2 separate regions of the Homo sapiens genome follow, and region 1 is linked to region 2. Evidence: promoter capture Hi-C in 16 types of primary human blood cells and fetal thymus (Javierre and others, 2016). All regions are on one chromosome and are shown on one strand. The core of a region is centred on a gene start or on the middle of the fragment in contact, and the rest is flanking DNA. Distances in the headings are between cores, read along the strand shown. Region 1 overlaps FAM111B (FAM111 trypsin like peptidase B). Region 2 holds the start of PATL1 (PAT1 homolog 1, processing body mRNA decay factor).

What was found. Contacts are between HindIII fragments. The CHiCAGO score rates a contact against its expected background, and 5 or more counts as called.
Region 1: a contact is called between a fragment that was not itself captured here and the fragment with the promoter of PATL1 in region 2, in 1 of 17 cell types (fetal thymus). The highest score is 6.1, in fetal thymus.

Annotation. Positions count from the first base shown.
Region 1 is chr11:59,107,256-59,113,549 of GRCh38, reverse strand. It overlaps FAM111B (FAM111 trypsin like peptidase B), which reads right to left. Exons shown (of 4, transcript NM_198947.4): 1 at 6,254-6,294; 2 at 4,838-4,882; 3 at 3,844-4,010. The coding sequence starts at 3,924. Among named protein-coding and RNA genes, the nearest start is that of FAM111B, 3.2 kb to the right of the region's middle. RefSeq lists an enhancer at 5,145-5,194. The HindIII fragment of the contact is 698 bases long and covers 4,696-5,393 here.
Region 2 is chr11:59,667,137-59,673,768 of GRCh38, reverse strand. PATL1 (PAT1 homolog 1, processing body mRNA decay factor) reads left to right here and starts at 4,732. Exons shown (of 19, transcript NM_152716.3): 1 at 4,732-4,888. The coding sequence starts at 4,874. PATL1-DT (PATL1 divergent transcript) reads right to left here and starts at 4,459. Exons shown (of 4, transcript NR_187296.1): 1 at 4,227-4,459; 2 at 82-193. RefSeq lists enhancers at 4,183-4,472, 4,399-4,693 and a silencer at 4,653-5,002. The HindIII fragment of the contact is 2,400 bases long and covers 3,952-6,351 here.

The DNA.
Region 1 (6,294 bases), core at 3,795-6,294, 560 kb after region 2:
GAGGTAATAGCAGCCACTCACAGTTCTCTGGACAATCTTAAAGCTGCATGATGTCAGGATGACTAACCTCTGTCACTTGTGCCTTGTACTTCTGATCTTTCTAGTTCTCACCTTGTCTGGTGGCCTTGGAGAGAATAATGCACCAGTCACATTGCCCCTTCAATCACCCACTCCCTGCTCTGCCTTCATCCACCAGGTTTGCCTATTCTCCCAGGTACCCCACAGCAAAAGAAATTAAACAAGACCAAAATAAATGGAGAATATATCTTGTTCAAGATTGGAAGACTCAACATGGTTAAGATGCTAATCATCCACAATTGTGTTAATTTTTTTACACAACACACAATTTACACAAACACACAAACTTTGATCCAGATATTGCACCATACAAAAAATAAATAAAACTTAAAATCAATTGCAGACTAAACCTAAAACTACAACTCTGGAAGAAAACTAGAAATGTTTTGTGATCTTAGATTTAGGACAGTTCTCTGATGTAAAAGCAAAAGCATGATCCACAAAGAGAAATATAGAGAAAGTGGACTTCATCAAAGTTGAAAACTTTTCCCTCCCGAAACAGGAATAAAAGGATGAAAAGACAAGCCACACAGAGATAAAATATCAGGAATTATCACAAATATTATGAGAAAAGCAATATGACAAAGGACTTGTTTCCAAAATATGTAAAGCCCTCTCAAAACTCAGCAATAACTAACAAGTATAAAATGGGAAAAATATTTTAATAGACACTTCACCAAAGATATGTGGATGATATAAACACATGAAAAGATGCTCAAATCATGAGTCATAGTGAAATACAAATTAATACCACAAAACGATGCCATTACATACCTATGAGAATGAATAAATCAGAAAAACTTTGTGTTGACAAGAATATGAAACAACTGGAACTCTCACACATTGGTAACGAGGATGAGAAATCATACAGCCATTTTGTAAACATTTTGATAATTTCTTATAAAATTAAAGTTATGTCATACACTTTCCATGACAGCAATTCCACTGCTAGGTGAACCCAAGAGAAATGAAAACTAATCTTCATACAAAAACCTGCAGGCAAATGTTCACAACAGCTTTATATACAAAGTCCCCAAACTGGAAACAATTCAAATGTTCTTAAGGGAGTGAATGGATAAACAGATTTTGATACATTCACACAGTGGAATGCTACTCATCAATAAAAAGAAAAAACCTATCAGTGCATGCAACACTCATGAATCTTAAATGGAATGTTCTAAGTGAAAGAAGCCAGACTCAAAGGGTATGATTCAGTGTATGTTCCATTTATATGATGTTCTGGAAAAGTTAACACTAGAGTAATGAACAGATTAGTGGTTGCCAGGGACTGGGATGAATAGGGCACAAGTGGGGAGAACAGGAAATTATATAGAGTGATGGAACCACACAAGAAATTATTTAGGGTGATGGAACTGCTTTGCTTCTGGATTTTGGTCATGGTTACATTACTGCAGGCATTTGTTATAAGCCATTCAACTGTATACCAAAAAGACTGAATTTTACTGTATATGAAATACATAAATTTAAAGGAAACAATAAAAGTTAAAGCCTTTCAAATAATCTGTAAGACAATTAATTGGGTGTGGGGGTTTTTGTGTTCATTTCTATCATCTTTTTTTGTATCTTCTACTTTTGCCACTTTTTCTGAATTTATATTCCCTTGCTTTGTTGCCTCCTTTACTTTGATTTTTCCCTCTCATTCTATTTTCTAGACGAACAGTTTGGCAGTTTTATACTCTAGTTCTGTTCTATAATTGGATGCCCTAGACTAGTACTGCCCAATAGAATGTCTGCAGTGACGGAAATGTTCTACATCTGCACTGTCTAATTCCACAGCCACATGTGGTTCTTAAGTACTTGACACGTGATATAACTGAGAATTTGTACTATTGACCTTTTTCATTATTTGATTTTAGTTAAGTTGAATTTAAATTTAAATTTACATAATCACATGTGATTAGTGGCAATTGTCTTGAACGAAATAGCCCTAATCATTTTAACATTAATATTTAACTTAACAAAGTCTTAAGTGAATTGAATAACTCCTCCTAAGCAATACAAAGATAAAGTCTGTAAACACATCTCCTTTATTTACAGAAGGAAATCCAAAAACCTACACATGGAATTCAAAGAAAAAAAAGATACTGCAGCTATTTTCCAGAAAGCTATTCTACCTCTCTCCCACTTTTTAGGAGCCATACACGTATGGAAATGAATTCATGACAGCTTAAGAATATCTATATGTGCCCTCTCAGTCACAAGGTTTTGTGTTGAAATGGGTGAGCTACTTAAGTTGGGACAATTAGATGGCAAAGAGAAGTTTCCTCAGGAAACCAGGATAGACTCATTATAGGGAGAGTAAAGCATCTGATATTACTGCAGCTCTATTTGTCACTATGCAGAAAGCCAGCCAGGGGATAACATGAAAAGCAGAACACAGAGACTGAACACACAAACAAGTCCTTAAAGAAACTGTATACCACTGAATTAAGAGCTCAGCTGAATTCTGGAATGTCCACTCATGTGAACCAGCGAATCCATTTTATTGTTTCACAATTAGAAAATATTTTTACTGGAAATGTGGAAAGCTCTTATTGATATAAAGCCTACTGTGATCTTGGCACCATACTACCTTACCAGTATAGAAAACAGTATTTGCCTACCATATTCTTGAATTCTCCTTATAAAGCATCAAATGCAGCTATCCTGTTCCCCAAATATGTTTTCCTGTGTACACGACTTTACTTAGGCCATTCCTTCATCCTTGATACACTAGTGAAATGTTATTCATTCTTTTTAAAAAATAACTTAGTTTTAGACATACAAAATGCATAATTAATGTACATAATTAATGTATGCAACTTGATGAGTATGGAGATACATTATCACCACAATCTATGCCATCAACCTATCTATCACCTCCCAAAGTCTCTTCCTGCCCTCTTATTATTTTTGTAATTAGAACACTTAACATAAGATCTATCATTTTAGCAAGAACTTGAGTATACAACAGTGTTATTAACTATAGGCACCCATGCTGTACAGATCCCTAGAACTTATTCACCTTGTATAAGGAAACTTTGTACCCCTTGACTAATACCTCCATTTTTCTCTATTCCCAGCCCAACAACCACTTCGACACCTATGAGTTTGACAATTTTAGATTTATTATTCATTAATAAATCATTTCTCATATGACGCTGCTGTAGTTTCCTAAGTCTGAATTAAGCATTCTTCTCTCTGTACTCTAAAATCACTTGTTTATGTCTCAATTTTGTATTATCATTTTGCATATTTTGAGCAAAATAGTGTGGGTCAAAAACCAGTCTCTGCAGTCTGATGGACTAGGTTTAAATCCTTGCTCTGAAGTCCATTACTTCTGCAACTATAAGCAAGTTGAGCTTCAGTTTCTTCTTTTATAAAATAAGTATGATAATAATACCTACTGCATAGTTCTATTAAGTGTTAAATGAGATAATACATATGATGGGACACAATTCTAGGCACACAGTGTTTCCTCAGAAAACATTAGCTAATTATTTTTGCCTGTCTACACTTTCCAAGACTTTAAGTGTCTATATTGTTTGTTAGTCATCTTGTTGTCTTAACATACGTTTAGCATTGTTAACTCTATCATTTTGCTTTCCACAAGCACTTATGTGTATGAGCTCCCCAAATATATTTTAAACTACCTAAGAGAAGGGCTTATAACGACCATTGTTTAAGAACTTATCTCCAAGATCCTCATATGGCACTATAGTTAGACTATCACTCCTCTGAGGAGTTGTAAAAAAGTAGATATACCTTTGAAACTTCAGGTCTAGTCCTCTGGTCATCTTCCATAGCGCTAAATGACTTGTTTTCTTCAGTCTTCATGGAATTCATGATGAGTTCAAAGAGAATGTAACTAACTTCTACTACTCGATAAGATGGAGAAACAAGGATTGAATTTATTCTGCCACCTGAAATGTCTAAAAAAACCAAAAAAACAAGATCTATGAAATAACCACTTTCAAACACTGGAGATCAGGTGGTGTGGGACCTCATCTCTGATATCTGAGAAGAAAATCATATGAGGTAAGCCCTATGGCTATTTAGCTTACTGTATGGAGTTTCCAAGGCATATCTTAGGAAGGAGAAACAGGCAGAGTCTAGTAGTTTCCCTGATTTGAGAAGACAAGCAAGGAGTTTTGGGAGGCCAAGATGACTGGAGCTTGTATGACAGAGTACTAGGGAGAAGACAGCCACAGGAGCACACAGTATGAGAGATCTGCAGTGGGTATCCCTTGAGATTTCAGCTTGGTCAATGCATGAGTGGAACGAAACTGTTGAAAAGGAACAGGAAAAGAAGTACCCAAAAGAAGCAGATGTAACAATTTCTGAGGCTCATACAGGACTGTGTATAATTTCAATTCCCAAAAATCCGACTAGAAAACTTCATAATTCATGAAGTATCAGGGAGACTACTCTGCAAGGTATTTCTTCCGCAGTAGGACAAAATTAGCCCTAGTTCTGCTCCCACCTAATAAATAAAAGCAAGCTTCGAAAGTATAAAATGGTTTCCATGTAAAATATGAACATACTAGAACAAAGCTCAAGAATATTGATAGGAATGTAAAAATTTCTGGCACCCAAAGTTGTGAAATTAACAAAGCTTGATATCTAATAAAAAAATCAGCAGGCACTTAAAAAGTGGATAAATATGACCCATAATGACTAGAAATATCAGTGAATAGAGACAGGTCCAGAAGTGAGAGAGAAGATAGAACTAGCAGTCAGAAACATTAAAAGTCATTACCTTGAATTTCTGGCCAAAATGGAGTAACAGGGACTGGATTTCCCCCTAGTATGAAAACAAAACAAAACAAAAAAGAGCAAAACATATGAAACAATGGTTTGCAAGGAACTGGACATTATGCAATTAAGGACAGTGACAATTGAAATGTATCCTATAATCCACTTTAGCAGACTACCTTGAGGAATTCCAGGCCAGTGTGGCAAGGAAGGGCAGCAAGACAAAACCAGTAGGAATTCCAGATTTAAGGAGACAAAGCTGAGAGACTAAGGTGACAAGAGGTCACAGGCCAAAGACATGGTGGGAGACCTGCACAGAGAGGGAACTCTGGATATATGAAGAGGGTTCCCCTAAAGCATTCAGCTGTGTACTGATCAGAGCAGCAGCTGAGAAAACTTTCCAAGGCCAGGAAAGAACCACCCTAAAACTGTCATAGTCTAACTTTCCACCAACCCTCTCCCTGTAACCCTTTTAGGGATCCCCATTTCCTCATTTCTAGATTAAGGACTTTGGCTCAGATGAAACTTTTATTGTTCGTGTGAATTGGTTCCTCTAAGCTTTTTAAAAAGGATTCCAGATCCCACCCTCACAGACTCTGATTCAGTATGTCGGGGTGTGGCTATGGAATCTGCATTTTTACCTGCCTCACTCCACAACCCCCGCCTCAAAGGCGCACCAAGTTCTTTGAACAGCTGCCTCTGTCACCGCAGGATGACCTCAATGCTTTCCTAAAGCCCCAGAACCTATGAAGGTAACCTGTGCTTGAAGCTGTGCTTGCTTACAGAAACAGAGACTGGATGTCAGTAACCACCGTGCTACAAGATGGGAAACGAACTTAGAAGCGCTACCCTAACCTGAATCCTTGCTGATTACCATACCTCAATCTGTGCCTCGGGGAGAAACGCAGCTTGCTAGGCACATGTAGTGTTGGGTGGCAACAGAAAATAGGAGACTGCCACACTCAGCTGTTTCTGGAAAGCCCCGTCTCTTTCCAGAAATCCTTGCTTTCCAACTACCTGCCCTAAAAGACCTTAAGAAGCACCCTCACACTACACTCCAGGCACTTTGAGCAGGAGCTCTCCTACTCCATTCCTTGATCAGTGAATAGTTTCTGCTCTGCTTAACCGAACCTGGTCTCCTTCTATGGGCGCGAACGGCACCGGGCAGGGAAAGGACCCACCAGGGTCAAACGACCCTCTCGAGATTCAGGAACACCCAGATGATCTCTAAGTATCTCTTCAGGAGTACAACTCTTGGCCTTTGAAGCTGAGACAGGGGGAAGGGAATTACAACGGGCGGCTGCCCAGCTCCCCATCCAAAACCCCCTTGACTTTGGGCTGAGGTCCTTCTGCCTACTGCCCTTGTCAGCCATCCCCCTAAGAACTCCAGGTCCGACCCGGGAAAAGAAAAACCACTCACAGAACCGGAGAGTCTGTCCACACGGTGCAAGTGCCCGTCAG
Region 2 (6,632 bases), core at 3,483-5,982:
AGCATCTCCACTTCCATATTCCATTAGTCAAAGCAGTCATAGCTCAGTCCAGATTCAAGGAAAAGGGAACATAGATCTTACCTCCTAATGGGAGAAGTAGCAGGGTGTGCTGGTTTGCGCCTGTAATCCCAGCTATGCAGGAGGCTGAGGCCAGGAGTTTGAGACCAGCCTGGGCAACATAGTGAGACCCTGTCTTTATAAAAATAAAAAATAAATAAGCTGGGTATAGTGGTGTGTGCCTGTAGCCCCAGCTATTCAGAAGGATGAGGCAGGAAAATCACTCGAACCCAGGGGTTTGAGGCTGCTGTGAACTATAATCACACCATTGCACTACAGCCTGGGCAACAGAGTGAGACCCCATCTCTGAAAAGTAAATAATAAAAACTAATCAGTTAATTATTAAATGGGAGAACTGTCAAAGAATTTGTGGCCATGTTTAGTCCATCACAAATTTTGCCTTGTAACAGTTATTTTTATTATATGGGTAATTCTTTTCCCCTAAGATTTGTTGCACTAAGGGGTCCCATTACTTTCTGGGAGGTTTGTCATAACTTTTTTCACTACATGAGAAATGACCCTGGGTGCAGCACCCTACTCTTTTCTCCCTCTATAACCCTGCAAGTACTAATGGACAATGTGGGGTTTCAAAGTGTAGTCACAGAACTAGTAGCGTCGGAATAATCTGGCAACTTGTTACAAATGCAAATTCTCAGGCCTGACTTCCCTCCTACTGAATGTGAAACTCTGGGGATGGGGCCCAGTAGTCTATGTTTCAACAAGCCATCTTGGCAATTCTAAATGCATGTTAAAGTTTGGAATCAGTGTTTTAGAGATGTAAGTTACTTGATGAAAATATCTGAAACCAGTCTCACAAGAAAGTAAATTGTACGTCATGTTTTTTTACATTTAGAAAAGAAACAGGCCAGGTGTGGTGGCTCACGCCTGTAAGCCCAGCACTTTGGGAGGCTGAGACAAGAGGATCGCATGAGACCAGGAGGTCGAAGCTCAGTGAGCTGTGATCATGCAACCGCACTCTAGCCCAAGTAACTTGTCAGGTTTAAAAAAAAAAAAAAAAAAAAGTAAAAAAGAAACATGTATACTCTGTAAATACTATAATGGCTTACAGAGCCTCCAGAAAGCATAGATAATGCCAAAGAAAGCTGGTGTGGTGGCTTTCTCTAATTGATGGCCTTCCTCAGCTGTCAATAACCTTTCCCATGTACTTGGCATGCAGGAGACACCTCCCTTCTCCCACCCACTCAAGGGACAGTTCCCAGAAACATCATACTTTATGTCTAAAGAATCACTTGTGAAAAGAACTTGTACCTTTTCCATCTTAATAATGGGCCTATTAGCAGCTCAAAAAAAACTATATATATATATATATATATATATATATATACAAAAAAAACCATATATATATATATATATATATATATATATATATATATATATATAGTTTTTTTTGAGATGGAGTCTCCCTCTGTTGCCCAGGCTGGAGTGCAGTGGTGTGATCTCAGCTCACCACAACCTCCACCTCCCAGGTTCAAGCAATTCTCCTGCCTCAGCCTCCCGAGTAGCTGGGACTACAGGTGGGTGCCACCATGCCTGGCTAATTTTTGTACTTTTAGTAGAGACGGGGTTCCACCGTGTTAACCAGGATGGTCTCGATCTCCTGACCTCGTGATCCGCCCGCCTCGGCCTCCCAAAGTGCTAGGATTACAGGCGTGAACCACCAGCACCCGCCTAAAAATACATTATTCTTTTAAAGGGACTTTCAATCTCCCTCACAGACAGGTGTTGTATAAGAGGAAATGGGAAATTTTGTTGATCCTGTCTATGACACTTTGTTTTCTGCTCCTTTAATTCCTGCTCTACAGCATTTCTTTCCTTGTACTTTCTTTGGGTTTATTTTATAGCTAATTTATATTCAGGCTTCCCTATTTTCGTCCTCAGTCTCCCGAGTAGCTGCTGGGACTACAGGCACAGGTGCACACCACCACGACCAGAAATAATGCAGAGCAGCTAATAAAACAACTAACCCAGCTAATTTTTGTGCTTTTTGTAGAGTCGCGGTTTCGCCATGTTGCGTAGGCTGGTCTCCAACTCCTGAGCTCATGCAATCCACCCACCACATCAGTTGTAACTATTTTCTGCTTTCCATTATTTAGTCATTGAATTGGAGGGGTTTTTTGGTTTTTGTTGTTGTTGTTGTTGTTGTTGTTGTTGTTTTTTGAGACAGAGTCTCGCTCTGTCACCCAGGCTAGAGTGCAGTGGCGCGAACTCGGCTCACCTCAAGCTCTGCCTCCTGGGTTCACCCCATTCTCCTGCCTCAGCCTCCCGAGTAGCTGGGACTACAGGCGCCCGCCACCACGCCCGGCTAATTTTTTTGTATTTTTAGTATTTTTAGTAGAGACAGGGTTTCGCCATGTTAGCCAGGATGGTCTCCATCTCCTGACCTCGTGATCTGCCCGCCTCGGGCTCCCAAAGTGCTGGGATTACAGGCGTGAGGCACCGCGCCAGGACTTTTTTTTTTCTTTTTTAATTTCTGAAAACTTAAGACTTTTTTCCTAATCTGTTTTTACTATTGATATCTTACATAATGATCAGAAAACATGATCTGCAAGATCAGGGATCAGCAAACTCTGTAAAGCGCCAAATAGTAAATATGTTACACTTTACAGGCCACACTGTATCCATTGTAACCACTCAACTCTGACTTTATAACATTAAAGCAATCAAAGACAATATGTAAATAAATAAGGTTGGCTGTATTCCAATAAAGCTTGCTTTACAAAAACGGGTGGCTGGCCAGATTGGACTGTGGGCCATAGTCTGCTAACCCTTGATCTACATGGCACCAATTCTTTGGTAATTATTAAGATGTACTGCTACTTAGTTTTTTTTGTTTGTTTGTTTGTTTTTTGTGAGACGTAGTCTTTGCTCTGTCACCCAGGCTAGAGTGCAGTGGTGCGATCTCGGCTCACTGCAAGCTCCGCCTCCCGGGTTCACGCAATTCTCCTGCCTCAGCCCCTCGAGTAGCTGGGACTACAGGCGCCCGCCACCACGCCCGGCTAATTTTTTGTATTTTTAGTAGAGACGGGGTGTCACTCTGTTAGCCAGGATGGTCTAGATCTCCTTGACCTTGTGATCCGCCCACCTCGGCCTCCCAAAGTGCTGGGATTACAGGCGTGAGCCACCGCGCCTGGCCTGTTACTTAGTATTTGATGTTTTATAATGTTCCATGCATGCTTGAAAACCAATAAATCATCTTGTCCCGACGCTCCACTTCTTTAAAGTTCAGGCCTGGCCCATGTCAACATTTGCTTTTGTTATTCTGGCACAGTGATTAAGACACTCGGTTTTTAATAATCAGACAAATCTCAGCTGCTAGCTTTACCACTTGCCATTGGGTGGTTGGAGGCAAACAATGTCGCTAATCCTCAGGTTCCTCAACTGTAAACTGAGAAAATAACAGTACCTACCTCATGGGGGGCACATAAGGAAGGATTCAATGAGATAATCCATTTTATAAAGCGCCTAGCAGAGTCCCAGGCAGCCTTCAATCGTTAGTAGTGTTACCATCATGAGGCAGGTGTAATTATACCCATTTTACAAGAAACTAAGGCTCAGAGAGGTTTAGGTAAGTTGCCCAAAGTTTCCTAGCCAGTGGCAAAGCACAAGCTCCCACCCAGAACTTTTCTTCACAAATTCAGCGTTTCCGATACTCAAACTGATCCAGACACACTAACATTTAGGGGATTTACTGTATGCCATTCCGAGACGAGGCTGCATTTTAAGACGCCCAGGGAAGAAACGGATTGCGAAACCCAAAAGAATTCATTCTTTGTGCTGCAAGTTTTGTCTGAAAGGAAAGGGGCAAGAAGGGCATGGAGCGTGCTAGAGGTAACAAACCACCCAACAGAATTCTGGAACCAGGGGGCCGAAGCTTCTAAGCTGGACACATTCCTCTGTGGGTTCGATCCTCTAAGGAAGTGGAGTCACCCAGCGGCGCACCACGGCCCGAAGACCCTGCTGCTGCGTGGCCAGCGGCCCACGGCCGTGCGGCCCTTCGAGGCTCTGCAGCTCCTCGCGCCTAATGAGCCTGGCGCTTAAAAATACCACCCTAGTTAAACCTCCCGGAACCTGTCTTCAGCATTTCAAAAAAAAAAAAAAAAAAAACGGGCGCCGTCATCACTTTGAGCCACATAAATCACAGCCCTGACCTGCTGTGGATTCAGCAGGCGACGAGCCGCTGAAAGTGGCGACGAAGTCCGCCCCTTTCGAAGACCAGCAACTTTCCATTCTTTTTTCCCTGCGCAAGGCGCAGATTGCAACGGGGAGACCCCCGAGCAGCCTGAGGAGTGAGTCGGACGTTGGAAAAACTGCCCGGGAATCTCATCTTTCCCAGCCCAGGCTAAGCGCAGGATTCTTCAAAGCTATATCCTGTGACAATCACAAGGGTTTTCTCCGCCCCACGGGTGACGGAGAACTCGTGACCGGCCCCTGAGCTCCAAGCCGAGCGCCTAGAGGGCGCGGAGAAAGAGGGGGCGGAGCTACAAGCCCAGATCACCAGGCAGCCGAAGACGGGCAGCGCGTGCGCAGTCTCTCGCCACGGGACCTCCTTCCCGCCGCTGAGACTAGGAAGCGGGACGCCAAATCTGTCCCTGCGCAGCCGCCGCCGCCGGGCGCCGAGCGGGGTGGCCGCCCTGCCTGAGGCGCGCCTGCGCACGTCCCCACGCACGCTCCGGCGTACGGCGGCGGCCAGGGGTCGCGAGCCGGTGGAGGACCCGCGCGCGGAGGAGCCGGGGAGTCAGCGCTTCTTCCCTCCCTCCCCCTCTCCCCTCCCCGCTCCCTGCCCCCCTCCCCAAGAATGTTCCGCTACGAGGTGAGCTGTTGCGACCGGAAGTGACCCCTCCCTCCCTCCCGCGCCCCTCTCCCTCACTCTCTCTCCGCGCGCCGGTCCTGTGTTCCTGCGGGGCAGGGGGCGGGCTGGGGGAGTCGCAGGACTTAGCTGGACGCGACTGGTCTGGGGTCGCGGGTCTAATCCTAGGGCTGGGAGCTGGCTTCATGGGTCGAGACAGTCCCATTAGTTGCCGCTGGGGAAAGTTGGCCTCCGTTTTGGGGTGGGGAGGGCCCGTTAAGTGCTGTAACCAGACCACACCCCCGCCCCCACCCCTAGAGGAGCCACGGAGGGTAGAGCACTGCATCTCCCCGGGTGCTTTTCTTAAGTAGGTGTCACCCGGGAATTCCCAGAGCCGCGTTTCCCGCCCTGGACCCGGAACCACCCCCCACCCACCTCCACTCGAATTACACTGACACACATCCCATTCACACAGGCTACCTTCAGGTGAAGGGGGCCTGGGCTTGCCGTTGGATTAGGGCCCCAGCCCGTTTACTAAAGAGGGCTCCGAGTTGGGAGGGGGGCGTGTCCTGCAGAAGTTCCTTCTGGGCTAGTGCTGGGAGACGCGGGTTTGGAGAAGGTGCCGGGAATGTAGCAATAGCAGCAGACAGTACTGACCCTGTCACCAACTCACTGTGTGACCTTGAGTGACTCCTAATCTCTGGACGTAAACTTTCTGAATTTGTAGCATGAAAGAACTGATGTAAATGATCCTTAAGAATTTTTAATTTAAAAAAGCAGCGATTTGGTAAAGTAGATATTTGTGATTTGGAAGGGAGTACTGCTGGAAGTTGCCTCTGATAAGGAGGCAGTGGCATGCCTATTGGCATGAGTTTGGAAGGGCTCTGGGGTAAGAAGAACGCCCTTTGACCTAATCTTTCCATTGTAAACAGGGTAGCTAAGAGGTAGCCAGGCAAGGTGTATCACAAACGTACCTACTGATAGAATATGGAATTCTGATTCTGAATTTTTGAAAATTGAGGACAGGTATACTTGATAGGAATGATCTAAGACCAAACCAAAAGGAAAACTTGGAGAATAAATCAGTTGAGTAAGATTGAAGTAAAGGGGGAAAATAGAACACACCTAGGATGTGGTGGCCTCTAGCCTTTGTTCGATAATCTGTAATCTTTGCCCACTTTGATCATCACAACTCTCTGCCATAGTTGGTATTGTCCCTGCATTACAATGTAAGACATTGAGCCTTACAGCCTAGCACAGAACCTTAGACGCAATAGGTCCTTAAAAGGTATTTGATGAATTAATTAGAAATTTTCTGAGTTGCCCATGTTCACACTGATTGTAGGAATGGAGCCAGAACTTGAACTTGTCATACCACAGCTTTTCCAGAGTTCATTTTATTGTGGTTGAAGACCTAATTTTCTGTTTCATCACTAGAGTTTAGGCCTATAGGGAAGATAAGAAAGATGGAAAATGAAGACAAAGCTTTAAAACGGAATAATAGTTGAAAAGATGACATGAATATAATGAGAAAGATGAGAATTTTGCTGGAAAAGATACATAAAGATACAAGAAAATAAAGGGTTCATTATTAATTGTCATCAGTATTCCAACCAGTGATGTAAGGAAAGTTGTGGGCTTAATTTCTTGGTTGCATGAGGAACTGCTGTTCGTGGATTCTTGATAAAATAGAGAAATGGAATGCTGTGAGGTGGGGCAAGAATTAAATGAAATAAGGATTAGGAAATAGAAAGTGAAAGAAAGATGA